Regions from separate parts of the Homo sapiens genome. Here region 1 is linked to region 2. Evidence: promoter capture Hi-C in human tissues and cell types (Jung and others, 2019). All regions are on one chromosome and are shown on one strand. The core of a region is centred on a gene start or on the middle of the fragment in contact, and the rest is flanking DNA. Distances in the headings are between cores, read along the strand shown.

Region 1 (2,722 bases), core at 36-2,535, 200 kb after region 2:
AAAAAATACAAAAACCAGTCAGGCGTGGCGGCGCACGCCTGCAATCCCAGGCACTCGGCAGGCTGAGGCAGGAGAATCAGGCAGGGAAGTTGCAGTGAGCAGAGATGGCGGCAGTACAGTCCAGCCTCGTATCAGCTCGGCATGGGAGGGAGACCGTGCAAAGGGGAGAGGGAGAGGGGGAGAGGGGGAGGGGAGAGGGAGGGGGGAGAGGGGGAGGGAAGAGAGGGAGAGAGGGAGAGGGAGAGGGAGAGGGAGAGCTATTTTTTGATATTTCTTATAGAAACTTTATTGAGATATAATGGATACAGTTTACCCATTTAAAGAGCACAGTTAAATGAATTTTATTATATCCAGAGAGTTGTGCAACTATCACTGCAATCAATTTTTAGGACATTTACATAATCTCAAAAAGATACCTGATACCCATTAACAGTCACTTCCAATTTTTCCCAAACTCCTCAGCCCTAGGCAATCACTAATCTACTTTCTGTAGATGTACATATTTTGAACATTTTCTGTCAGTGTACTCACACAATACGTGGTCTTTTGAAACGAACTTTACTTAGCATAACATGTTGAAGGGTCATCCATGTTGGTGCATGAACCAGTTATTCATTTCTTTTCATGGCTACATAATGTGCCATTGGATGAATACATCACATCTTATTTATTCATTAATGGCTATTTTGGATTGTTTCTACTTTTGGCTATTATTAATAATGTTGTTTTGAACATTTATGTACAAGCTTATGTGTAGGCATAAGTTTTAATTTCTCTTGGTTGTATATCTAGGAGTGGAATGCTGAGTCATATAATAACTCTATGTTTAAACCCTTGGGAAACTGCCAGACTGTTTGCCAAATAAATTGCACCATTTTACATTCCCACCAACAATGTATGAGGGTTCCAATTTCTCCACTCCCTTGGCAACCCTTTTATTATCTGTCTTTTTTACTGTAGCCAATCTGGTGGCTAAGCAATATCTCATTGTTGTTTTGATTTCCGTTTCCCTAATGACTTATGACATTGACCATCTTTTCATGTGCCTATTGGGCATTTATATGTCTTCTTTTGAAAAATGTCTATTCAGATACTTTGGCCCATTGTTTAATTGGGTTATTTGTCTTTCTAAAGTGTTGAATTGTAAGAGTTATTTATGTATTCTAGCTACAAGTCTCATCAGATATATGATTTACAAATACGTTCACCCATGTTGGTGTCTTCACTTTCTCGATGGTATCCACTGATACACAAAAGTTTTTCATTTTGATGAGTTCCAATTCATTCATTTATTTTTTGTTGTTCCTTGTGCTTTTGATGTCATATCTAAGAAACCATTGCCTATTTCAAGGTCATGAAGATTTATATCTATGATTTCATCTAGTTGTTTATAGTTTTAGCTGTTACATTTAGGCCTTTTACCCACTATAAGTTAATTTTTGTATATGATGTAAAGTAGGGGGTCCAACTTCATTCTTTTTCATGTGCACATCCAGTTTTCTTAGCACTATTTGCTATTTGTTGAACAGACTGTTCTTTTTTCATTGAATTGTCTTGGCACCTGTACTTGATTTTAATATTCATATACTGTGTCTCACATTGAATAAGCATCCTTAATTTTGAGGAGAGAAATTTAATAAGCATTTTCCTTAATTTCTGTGCTTTTGAAAGTCCTAGGTTTCAAGAATATTCTCCTACATTAAAAAAATTAACTTTCTACATTTACCTTTCCCATTTAGGCCCTTTAATCCTTTTGAAATCTATGTAAATATTATTAGGTAAAGATCTGCTTTTATTTTCCTGCATATACAAAAAACCTTTAAAATAATTATAATAAATAATATTTATGGATAGACAATTTAATATTTTAAACATCTCAATATTCTTCACCAAAGTAATCCATCATATCAATGCAAACCCAATAAAAATACTAGAATTTTTTCTGGAAATTGATACAAATATTATAAAAATTTGGAGTAAAATCTGAGAGCTAAGAATAGTCAAGATAATGTGAAAGAATAACAAAATGGAAGACTTACTTTATGAGATATCTAATCATATTATAAAGCTACAATATCAGTGTGGCATTTGCTTAAAGATATATAGATAAAGGAAGAGAATAGAGTGTAGATCAAAGTAAATACTGTCATTTCATTTGTGAAAAGAATATGCTACTGTACAGATTATAAAAATTCTTTTTAATATGTGCTTCTTCATCAATTAGATATCCACATGGGAAAATATATATTCGTCTGTACTTCACAGAATTCACAAATATAACTTTCAGAAAAAATGCAGATCTAATTTTGGAAAGTAAAGCAATGACACTTAGGGAAACAAAAGAACCTGTTTGTTGCCCTGAAGTGGAAAAAAATATTATATGAGACCAAAATAATCCACAATTTTTAAAAAATTAGGTGACTTAGATTATTTTAAAAATGAAGAACTTCTCTTAATTAAGGCACCAATGAGAAAATGAAAAGGTAATTCTCAAATTGAGAAAATTTGTAAACCATATATGTGACAAAAGATTCATATCCTGAGCATATAAGAATACGTAAATCCTAAAATCTGTAAGAAAAGTCAGGCAAACAAATCAGAAAAATGTAAAAATAACTGAACAGATAGTTCAGAAAAGATGACATAAATACTCAATAATCAAATAAAAAGATACTCAAGTTCTTGAGTCATCAAAGAAACTCAAAATATTATGAGAACTCCA
Region 2 (2,831 bases), core at 285-2,784:
TGATTCTCTTGCCTCAGCCTCCCAAGTAGCTGGGACTACACGTGCTTGCCACCATGCCTGGCTAAGTTTTGTATTTTTAGTAGCGATGGGGTTTCACCACCTTGGCCAGGCTGGTCTTGAACTCCTCACCGCGTGATCTGCCCACCTCGGCCTCCCAAAGTACTGAGATTACAGGCTTGAGCCACCACGCCCAGACTGGGAACCTTTTTGACATGCACTTTTCAATCGTTGACAGATGCATAATGAAAAAATCTAAGTAAGCACAAATAAGCATGTAGGAAATTTAAATAGCACAGTTAGCAAGTCTGGGGAAAATATAAATGTATGCATATCCATCTGATAGAGAAGACACATTGTTTTCCAACAGACACAGATGTCACAAAAATTAACCTTGTATTAGGTCAAAAATAAAAATGTTCCTGAACTCGTTTTTTAAAATTCAAGTATGTCAAATTAAATCAAGTAATCCTTCAACTTAGAGCAATATATAAGAACATCAAACATGTAAACATCAAAAGACAGAGATAAGCCAAAACAATTGCACTGTCCCTTTATGTGCCCTAAGCTGCGATGTCAAGCTATAGTTGGATATTATTCAACCATTTCCTGCCCATTGCGTAGAGGTGGGGGTCTTCACTTCTCTATCTAGTCTAGGACTGGAACCGCCTCACCACCCCTACAGCTTGAGGGTGCGTGGAAAAGGGAATGCCAGCCAGATATTCCAAACAGAGACTCTGCCAGCAGGACCAGGTGACCTTTCCTAGGAGACAGATTGTTCTCACACGTTATCAGGGCTTTCCTCCAGGCTAAAACTGTGGGCCTCTAATGGAATTCCTATTCAATTTTCTTACCCCATTTAGGGTACCCAAATTTTTCTTTAATAGAAATCTTAAATCTTAAATGCAATAACATGAAGTAAAATAAAGCCTAAGTCTCAACAAGGGCAAATTTTCAAAAAGAATCTGAAAACTTCCCGCGTTTTCTTGTTATGTTGTAATGTGTCTCTTTTAGGACACTCTCAGTACTCCTGCAATTCCCCTGTTAAGGATTCAGACAATAGTTGTTAATTCCTTCTGCTTCTTCTGAGACTAGGAAATAAATTACAGGGCTATGTTATATCGCAAGTGTAGATTATCCAGAGTTTTCATCAACAGAAATAAAACATGGTGGGGGGCGGGGAGGGAATTATTTAAGTGAGTGTTAATTGAAAAGTTTCGTGGTTTTAACGTTAAAAGACATGCCTATAAAATAAGAACTTATAAAAGTCTTCACTAAAACGGTAAAGTGCCCATTTCCAAGTAGTAAAATATTGAAACTTCTTTTCATCGTTGATAGTGATTTATTTAACATTTCATTATTTTATCGTTATTATGATTGTCGTTATTTTAGACGAATGCACGGAAGTCAAAGGACTTCCAAATGCACGGAAGTCAAAGGCCACCTTCACCAGGGTAGCCTTGCGAATGGCCACTGCTGCGCGCGGGGCTTTCTGGGGATTGTAGGCCATAGGCCTCCTTGCGCATGCGCCATGGTACTGGACGCACGCTGCGGGCGACATTGTTTGGGACGCTGGGGTGAGTCCCGTCTGTACCGCGCCCCTCTTGGAGGCGTAGCCAGGAGTAGGAGTGTAGGATGTGCAGCTGTGACCCGTCCCTGTGGACTGAAGTAGGAGGAGTGGAAGAGGGGACTGGTAACCAATGATAAGGCCTCGTAGGTGGGGTAGACTAGGGAAGTTCAGCGGCCCGACCTACCCGGGATAGGATGGGAAGAGCGTGGGCTCGAGCGTGGGCTCGGTTTGGGGAGCAGCCCTGGGTTTGACAAAACAGTGCATCTTCACGTTTCGTGACAGCGACTTGCGCTGTGCCTCCTCGGGTCGAAGCTTAGGGTCAGTCTTGGGATGTGCATCTCTGGATGAGGGCAGAGGGGCGCTGGCTCAGGGTTTTGGAGTAATGGCTGGACTGTGCGTCCCTGAATGGGATGAGGGATTTGCTTAAGCAGCTAGTCTCTGGATATAGAGGATGGCTTCGGCTGTTCTCGCTCAGTTTGGTGGGGGCGATTCTGGCTCAGCACCCCTAGGTTCTTGGATGGGGAGTTGTCTTGGGTCTGAACTCTGGATTTTGGCAGCTCTGACTCCATTGGGGCATTTATGACTTCAAGGCAGAGGTTCTGGCTTTTGGCAATAAAGAAACAACTCAGACTGTAATACTGTAATAACTCCAGAGTTTAATGTCACCGAATACATTTTGAAAAGAACTGTCCCAGGCCTGGCGCGGTGCCTCACGCCTGTAATCCCAGCACTTTGGGAGGCCAAAGTGGGCGGATCACGAGGTCAGGAGATCGAGACCATCCTGGCTAACACGGTGAAACCCCGTCTCTACTACAAAAAACAATTACAAAAAATTAGCCGGGCACGGTGGCAGGCGCCTGTAGTCCCAGCTACTCGGGAGGCTGAGGCAGGAGAATGGCGTGAACCCGGGAGGCGGAGCTTGCAGTGAGCTGAGATCACGCCACTGCACTCCAGCCTGGGCGACAGAGCCAGACTCTGTCTCAAAGAAAAAAGAAAAGAAAAGAACTGCCCCAAATTATTAACTCCATTCTCACCTCACATGCTGTGAGCCAGGGAGTAGGGACTTTGAGTATTATAAAGCACATTAGCAAATATAAGTTGTTAAATTACACTCAACAAATTTGAAGTTTGAACACTCTCTGTATATTTGATAAAGTTAGAGATTTAGTGTTAATTATTTTAGGTGTAATAGCAGCATTTATTACATTTCTGATCGTGTTTCTGGGCAATTGCAGTTCCAGATTCAGCTGCACTTTTCCTCTAG

The links. Contacts are between HindIII fragments. The study calls those that stand out against the background at their distance.
Region 1: a contact is called between a fragment that was not itself captured here and the fragment with the promoter of ZNF285 in region 2, in 2 of the 25 tissues and cell types used here (IMR-90 fibroblasts and hippocampus).

What each region holds. Positions count from the first base shown.
Region 1 is chr19:44,200,789-44,203,510 of GRCh38, reverse strand. No RefSeq gene overlaps it. Among named protein-coding and RNA genes, the nearest start is that of ZNF227, 10 kb to the left of the region's middle. The HindIII fragment of the contact is 7,900 bases long and covers 1-2,722 here.
Region 2 is chr19:44,400,311-44,403,141 of GRCh38, reverse strand. ZNF285 (zinc finger protein 285) reads left to right here and starts at 1,534. Exons shown (of 4, transcript NM_152354.6): 1 at 1,534-1,574. RefSeq lists an enhancer at 1,381-2,137. The HindIII fragment of the contact is 9,713 bases long and covers 1-2,831 here.